3 separate regions of the Homo sapiens genome follow, and regions 1 and 2 are each linked to region 3. Evidence: promoter capture Hi-C in human tissues and cell types (Jung and others, 2019). All regions are on one chromosome and are shown on one strand. The core of a region is centred on a gene start or on the middle of the fragment in contact, and the rest is flanking DNA. Distances in the headings are between cores, read along the strand shown.

Region 1 (2,700 bases), core at 114-2,613, 64 kb after region 3:
CTCACACATTACCTCCAGCCATACTGGACTACTGGGGGCCTCTACCAGCTGTATCTACCTTGGCCTGTGTCCACTGCCTGGAAGCTTCATTACGCAAACACTTAGCCTGGCTAATTCTAATCATTAAATCCCCTCCAGAAAACCTTTTCTCATCACTTCTCCCCCTCGTCTCCTGGGTCCAGACTGGGTTAGGACCCCCTCCTCCCTGCTTTCAGAATTCCCTGGCCATGTCTCCATCATGACAATTAACTCATTTATTTACTCACCCAACAAATACTTCATGTACAAGGCACAAGAGCTAGGGCAGAAGCCAGACAGCAGAGCGAGGGTTGGGGGGCCCAGTGAAGAAAGTTGATGCCAACAGAGGCCATATGAAGTGTGGACTCCACGCATCCCCTGCATATATCCAAAAGGAGGCCTTCTCTGTTTCCTGTCTGCTTCACCACTGGGCTGTGAGCCTTAAAGGTCAAAGTTTTCTTCTATCTGACAATCTACCTTCCCAGCTTAGCACGGGATATGGCCTAGAGTACTCTTCATAGTGCATGGTGGATGAAGAGAAAGAGAACAGCCAACTCAGAGCTCACTCTGCTCTGGCTTGCTCTCTTGACTCTTTAGAACTGGAAAGGATCTGGCCGGGCATGGTGATTACAGGTGTGAGCCTGTAATCTCAGTACTTTGGGAGGGAGAGGCGGGTGGATCACCTGAGGTCAGGAGTTCAAGACCAGCCTGGGTAACATGGTGAAACCCCATCTCTACTAAAATTACAAAAATTAGCCAGGCGTGGTGGCACACACCTGTAATCCCAGCTACTTGGGAGGCCAAGGCACGAGGATCTCTTGAACCCGGGAGGCCGAGGTTGCAGTGAGCCAAGGTCATGCCACTGTACTTCAGCCTGCCTGGGCGACAGAGTGAAACTCTGTCTCAAAAAAAAAGGACTGGAAAGGATCTTACAGATGAGGTCCAATCCCTTATCTGTTAACAGATTAAAAAAACTCGAAAAGTAGCAAGGTGAGCAGAGAGGAAAGTCAAGTGTCAAAACCAAAACTTCTGCTTTCATAGCTTAGTACCTTTTTTTTCTAAACTGTGCTGCCTCTAATTTGAGTTGAACAAAATGTGTACTTCAGTAAAATTTCAGTTATTAATATTTAAAATCACTTATTATATAATAACTTGAACATTCTGTTTGTTTGTTTGAGATGGAGTCTCACTTTGTCACCCAGGCTGGAGTGCAATGGTGCAATCTCAGCTCACTGCCACCTCCACCTCCCAGGTTCAAGTGATTCTCCTGCTTCAGCCTCCCGAGTAGCTGGGATTACAGGTGCCCGCCACCATGCCCAGCTAATTTTTGTATTTTTAGTAGAGATGGAGTTTCACCATGTTGGTCAGGCTGGTCTTGAACTCCTGACCTCAAGTAATCCACCCACCTAGGCCTCCCAAATTGTTGGGATTACAGGCGTGAACCACCATGCCCAGCCAACTTGAACATTCTTAATGTTCTTGCTCCTTCCTTCCTTCTATCCTTCCTGCCTTGCTTGCTTCCTTCCTTTATTTTTTTCTTTTTCTCTTCAAATCACATAGTCACTTTGTTCCCAAAAGGATTTTAGAGTGAAGTGCCTACCATGAGAGAGGCATTCTAATGGATGCTTGGATGTGAAATGAACAAAGCAGGTACCTGGGGGACAGCTGTCTATGGGGGACATAAAGATGTGTAGTCCAGTGTAAATGCAATCTTTGAGTTGGGGCTGGCGTAAATGCAATCACTGAGGGATAATTAAGGTAGGAGCCAATGTAAATGCAATCATTGAAGTTCTCCAGGTTTGGGTGGATCAAGAGAGGCTTTAAAAGGTGGACATGTTTAAGCTTCATCTCAAAAAATGAATGGGGATTGTCTAAGTATTTGAGGTCCCAGGAAAGAGGATGTTCTTATCAGAAGTACAGCAGGTATGAGACAGGAACAGTAGATACTTTAGTCCTTAGGTTGATGTTTGCTATGCTCTTTAGACTTAAAAAAAAATCTATTTCTAACTGTATTAGTCCATTCTTGAATTGCTATAAAGAAATACCTGGGGCTGGGTAATTTATAAAGAAAACAGAATTAATTGGCTAATGGTTCTGCAGGCTGTACAGGAAGCATGGCACTGGAATCTGCTTGGCTTCTGGGGAGCCCTCAGGAAGCTTACAATCATGGTGGAAGGCAAAGCAAGAGCCAGCGTATCACACAGTGAGAGCAGGAGCAAGGAGAGATGGAAACTTTTAAACTTTTTTTAAACTTTTAAACAACCAGATCTTATATGAACTCAGATGGTGATGGGGATTGTGCTAAGCCATTCATGAGGGATCTGCTCCCATGATCCAAACATCTCCCACCAGGCCCCACCTCTGATACTGGGGATGACATTTCTACATGAGATTTGGAGGAGACAAATATCCAAACCATATCATTCTGTCCCCTGGTCCCCCAAATCTCATGTCTTTCTCATATTGCAAAATACAATTATCCCTTCCCAACAGTCCCCCAACATCTTAACTCATTTCAACTCATTAATCAAGTCCAAAGTCCTAAGTCATCTGAGACTCATCTCCTTCTGCCTATGAGCCTGTAAAATCAAAACAGTTATTTACTTCCAAGATACAATGGTAGTACAGGCATTATTTAAACATTACCATTCCAAAAGAAATAAATTGAACAAAAGGAAATGG
Region 2 (2,700 bases), core at 177-2,676, 82 kb before region 3:
GTGGCTGTTAAGCTAAATCATAGTTGATGCAGCCTTCCCTATTAAATTAAGTGAAGAGCAAAGAGCCACCTATTTCTGTCCTTTGTTTATGCTAGTCTTGAATACAAGTTTGCTTTTGTGTGTAATTTTAATTGATGGTTCTGCTTCTGAAATAGCAGTGTTTTGTTATAACTTTTGAGAAATTCTACTGTATTTATTACTTTTATTTATTTATTTATTTTTTAGATTGTTCCCTAAGATTATATGGGTCATCCTGTAGCAGATTGGGTTTCAAAAATTCGGATGTAAACATTGACATCCAGTTTCCAGCCATTGTAAGTACAAAATGAAATGCTGGCACTTTCAGAGTGGTATGGAAATTCTTTCTTACAAATGTAAACTGTCTATGAATATATTTTAGATATTTGAAGATATTTTAAGTGTAATGACAGCATCCGCTTGCCTTCAGTTTCAGAGCTTTTTTTTTTAATACTCTGCAAATTTTCATACTTATTTTAGTCTATAGATCTTTTATACATCCAACACTGGTTTTTCAACCATGTGCACCTGATGGGGGTGTTTAGGTTCTGTTACTTAAAAAGAGTAAATTTTCTTGATAAAATCAACTTTCCAGTGGCAGAAAGGGAATTCAGATTTTAAAGTGTAGATATTTAAACATTTATGATCTGCAAGCTTAATTGTCTCTGGAGTTTCCTCTTTTTGTATACCTATTTTGTTAAAATAATTAGGCTTTTAAAGAATCACACCTAGCCTGGATTTCTGGTTTAAACATGATTTAAAAGTATGTTGATGAGTTAGAATTTTAAAACTGGAGTGTAGCTGGACACGGCACAGTTCTGTAGTCCCAGCTACTCTGGAGGTTGAGGCGGGAGGATCACGAGCCCAGAAGTTCAAAGCTGTAGTTAGCTGTGACTGCACTTGAGAATTGCCACTGCATTCCAGCCTGGGCAACATAGTGAGACCCTATCTCTTAAAAAAACAAAAAACTGAAAGGCACTTTAGTAGATTATCCATTTCTCTGCTGTTAGTTCCCACAGGCCTGTTTATAGATGATGTGTTTGCAGTTACTTGGGTTGCTTGTTAAAAATCCATATTCTGAGCTGGGTGCAGTGGCTTCACCCTCTAATCCCAGCTACTCGGGAGACTGAGGTTGGAGGGTTACTTGAGCCCAGGAGTTCATGAACAGCCTGGCCAGCCCCACCTCTCTCAAAAAAAATCCAGATTCTGGGGCCCCAGAGGTTCTATTTTACAACCTCTTACTTCTTGCTAAACCTGAGTGCTGTAGCTACCTGGTAAGCTACCCAATAGACTGTTTTTTTAACCTTAAATTCTGATCAGTGATTTACCAGCCATAGCAGTTATTTTGATCCGGTGTCATTAATTCATTTAGCAAATATTCACTCATCCCATTTGTATGGCAGACATACTAGGTTATAAAGGACAAAACAGAGATGGTTCCTCTTTATGGAACTCATCTAGTAAAGGAGATTAGTAATTACCTTGTAATTATAGTGAGAGCTGTGCAGGTAAAGGTTCAGGGATAGAAAATGACAAGGTCTGGGCAGAGATACAGCAGTCATGAAGGCTTCTTTGAAGAGGGAACATTTAAGCTGAGTTCTAAAAGACGAAAAGGAGCCTGCAGGAGAGGGGGAAACGGGAGGGAAAAGAGTTTCAGGCAGGGGGAGCAGCATTTGCAAATACCCTAAATCAATAAAGAGTTTGGCATATTCAAGGAGCTAAAAGAAAGGTTGTGTAAGTATGGTGAAGGGACCAAGAAAAAGAAGAGCAGGAGATTAGGATGGCTAGGTAGGCTGGGCTTGACTGGCCGAATTGTGTAGACCATGGTAAATAAAGAATTTGGTTTTGACCTAAGGGCAGTAAGAAGTCATTGAGAGTTGTAAGGATACAGTTTATGATTTTAAATGGCCCTGGCTCCATTGCGAAACAAGGATTTTAAAAAGAAGTGCAAGACTGACTCCGGGACCAGTAAGCTATCTGTTGCAATGGTATTAGAGTGAAAGGTAATATTGTTAGCAGTTTGACAAACTTCCAGCTACCACTTTGAGACTTGCTGAGAGGCAGGTTAACCTCAATAATTAGTTAAATCAGAAGTTAGTTGTATAGTAGGTCTCTTGCCCACATTTGTCTTCATTTGGTGTTGATCTGTCTGTCTTTGACTGACATATGCAAACAACATAGTGAGTAATTTCTTTACTTTGATAGCAATGTGCATTTCTCATTTAGAAAGGAATTTGGGGAACTTCGGATGACTCTTATATCAGTGAAGCAAAATCACTTAGGAATAATTTCATGTATTCATTGATTTATTTCCTAGATGTCTCAGCCAGATGTCCTCTTACTTGTTCAAGAATGTTTAAAGAACAGTGGTAAGGCCAAATTCCACATTTAAAAAATTTTTATGTTGTCTATAATTTGGATCTATCTTATTTCTCAAACTTTGAAAATAGCAAGGCATGCTTTTAAAATTATTTATGTGGGTAATATCCAAAGCAAATGCCCATGAATTATTAACTAGAGTCCTGTTAGTAGTTCTACTATGCAGAATAACCATTTCATAAGTAAAGCTTTTAGCTTGATGACATCATCACTATTTATAAAGATTAAATGAGTCCTAGATGTGACTAAGAAATGCAAAATATGTAAAATGTACTCTTGAGGGTAAAACTGAAGGATAATCTG
Region 3 (2,700 bases), core at 201-2,700:
AGTGGATCACTTGAGGTCAGGAGTTCGAGACCAGCCTGGCCAACATGGTGAAACCCCATCTCTACTAAAAATACACAAAAATTAGCCAGACATAGTGGTGGGCGCCTCTAGTCCCAGCTACTCAGGAGGCTGAGGCAGGAGAATCACTTGAACCTGGGAGGTGGGGAGGTTGCAGTGACATGAGATGGCACCACTGCATTCCAGCCTGGGTGACAGAGCAAAACTGTCTCAAAAAAAAAAAAAAAGCAGATTCTGTAACAAAGGTCCAGGGCAGAGCCTGAGATTCTGCATTAGTAGCAAAGGCCCAAGTGAAGCCAGTGCTGTTGCTCTGCAGAACACCTTTGAATGGCAGGCTTTTGAAATATTTTCTCATTGGAAGAATCTTCTGTATTTATTAAATTCTGCTTAAAATTATTAACTTTCTTGTATATCCATGTTCATAACAGCATTATTCACAATAGCCAAAAGGTAGGAACAACCCAGGTGTCCATTGACAGGGGACAGGGGGTGAGAAATTTATTTCATGGACACAGATTCAGGTGGAAAAGATGAAAAAGCTCTGGAGATGGAAGGCAGTGCAGGTGGCACAACAATGTGAATGTACTGAATGCCACAGAACTGTGTACCTAAAACGGCTTAACACGGTAAGCTTCATGTTATGGATATGTTGCCACGGTGTTCACAAGTTATTAACTCAATCAGACTATTTAAATGCCCAGTAGATTGCATTCTGGGGAAATGGCTGTTTCAGGAAAATTTTCAGTGATTGCCACAGGGACCTCCCATGGGTGGGGAATGGAGTCTGGAGCACGGCTGCATGGCTCATGGAGAGAATTTGCACAGCCAGGTAGCCCCTGGTCCACTTCTACCCATATCTGGCCAGGTGCAAAGAGCATAGCTGTACCTTCTATTATCTCTCTCAATTTCTTATTTGCACTTTGCCCATGTCTATAGAAGGAAAAACTTGACTGATTAAAAATTACATTCACGGCACCTGTAGTCCCAGCTACTCAAGAGGCTGAGGCAGGAGAATGGCGTGAACCCGGGAGGCGGAGCTTGCAGTGAGCTGAGATCGTGCCACTGCACTCCAGCCTGGGCGACAGAGTGAGACTCCATCTCAAAAAAAAAAAAAAATTATACTCACGCCAGCCTGGGCAACATGGCGAAACCCCATCTCTAGAGAAAAATACATAAATTAGCCAGGCGTGGTGGCGTGCGCCCGGGGTCCCAGCCACAAGCTGAGGCAGAAAAAAAAGTAGCTACTCAGCTACTCAATGTTCACTCTTTAAAAATGCTTTTCCATCATCCTCCACCGTCTCCCACCCCCCACCAAGCAGCAAGATAATTCCCCATCGCTTAGCATCATATAGCTGCTTATGTGACCTTGAGAATGTCCACATGTCACAATGGACAGTCACTTAACACTAAGCAATGACACATGCTAGGAGTGGGGCTGGGCCTTGGGGCTGCTGGATGAATGAGACCCAGCCTCTGCCCTGGGAGTGCAGAGACTCAAGACAGATATGACCACGTGAAGAGACAACTGTAAAACAAGTGGTAAGTGCATCTACAGCCATAGCCACGGGGCACTGTGAGACCACAGAGCAGTGAAAACTAAGCCAGTCTAGGCTTGGCAAGGAGAGATGGAGTGAGGTGGGCAGTGGCTAAGGTGGGAAGACCAGAGCTGGGAGGTGAGATGGGATTTGGGTTTATCTTTACCAATAAGGATGAGGAGCCTGTTTCATCTTCCTCCAGGCAGGTCACAGAAGCTGGAACCAGTTGATCGGGCCGAGCCTGCAGACTCCCTCATCCTTTCCGGCCTTCAACACTGATAGCTCTGCTCTCTCTCCCCAACCTCAGTGCCTTCATCCTCCCCTGTGTTCCCATGGATGCTTGGTCCTGACTTTGCACCTCTCCCTCACACCCAGTGTCCTTTGTTTTTCCTCTGCCACTTGGGAGGCTGATGGGAGGATCACCTGAGCCTGGGAGGTTGAGGCTGCAGTGACCTGTGTTCACGCCACTGCACTCCAGCTGGGGTGACAGAATGAGAGCCTATCTCAAAGAAAAAAAAAAAACACTGCTCTGTATGATACTATCAAAGTGGATATATGTAATTGCACATTGTGAAATCTCATAGAATGCACAACACCAAGAATGGACCGTAATGTAAACTGTGAAGTATGGGCTTTAGTTAGTAACCATGCATTGATACCGGCTCATCAAGTATAACAAACGTACCACACAAACATAAGTAGTAAAAAAAAAAGGGGAAAGCTGTGTGTATGGTGCAGAGAAGGGGGGTTGTGGGAACATTGTACTTTCTAACCAATTCTAAAATTGCTCTAAAATTTAAGTATATTAATATTTTTAAAAAAAGTTTCGTTAAATTAGCAATATAATAGTTGCTTACCCAAGAAAATTCAGGTTTTCAAATATTGCGTTTTAAAAGCAATTATTTCCGGATGTGAGGGTGATCTGGCTGCAACATCTGTCACCCCACTGATGGCCAGGGTTAATTTGTCTGATCTGGCTGGCTAGGTGGATGTCTCCTTCCTCCCTCATCCGTCCACATGCGTCCTTCCAGACGCTGCGGACAACCTTCCCCAACAGAGGAGGGCCGTTCTTTGGGCAAGGGTATATGAGTAGCTGCACTCCCCTGCTAGAACCTCCAAACAAGCTCTCTAAAAGTAATTACTTCAA

Evidence for each region. Contacts are between HindIII fragments. The study calls those that stand out against the background at their distance.
Region 1: a contact is called between a fragment that was not itself captured here and the fragment with the promoter of C9orf153 in region 3, in 4 of the 25 tissues and cell types used here (H1 embryonic stem cells, heart right ventricle, mesenchymal stem cells and 1 more).
Region 2: a fragment that was not itself captured here is called in contact with the fragment with the promoter of C9orf153 in region 3 in 2 of the 25 tissues and cell types used here (liver and mesenchymal stem cells).

Annotation. Positions count from the first base shown.
Region 1 is chr9:86,193,930-86,196,629 of GRCh38, reverse strand. No RefSeq gene overlaps it. Among named protein-coding and RNA genes, the nearest start is that of C9orf153, 64 kb to the left of the region's middle. The HindIII fragment of the contact is 4,388 bases long and covers 1-2,700 here.
Region 2 is chr9:86,340,689-86,343,388 of GRCh38, reverse strand. TUT7 (terminal uridylyl transferase 7) reads left to right here. Exons shown (of 27, transcript NM_024617.4): 6 at 226-314; 7 at 2,336-2,387. Among named protein-coding and RNA genes, the nearest start is that of TUT7, 12 kb to the left of the region's middle. The HindIII fragment of the contact is 6,359 bases long and covers 1-2,700 here.
Region 3 is chr9:86,258,407-86,261,106 of GRCh38, reverse strand. It overlaps C9orf153 (chromosome 9 open reading frame 153), which reads left to right and starts at 1,450. Exons shown (of 4, transcript NM_001276366.4): 1 at 1,450-1,557. It also overlaps the pseudogene RN7SKP264. The HindIII fragment of the contact is 6,872 bases long and covers 1-2,700 here.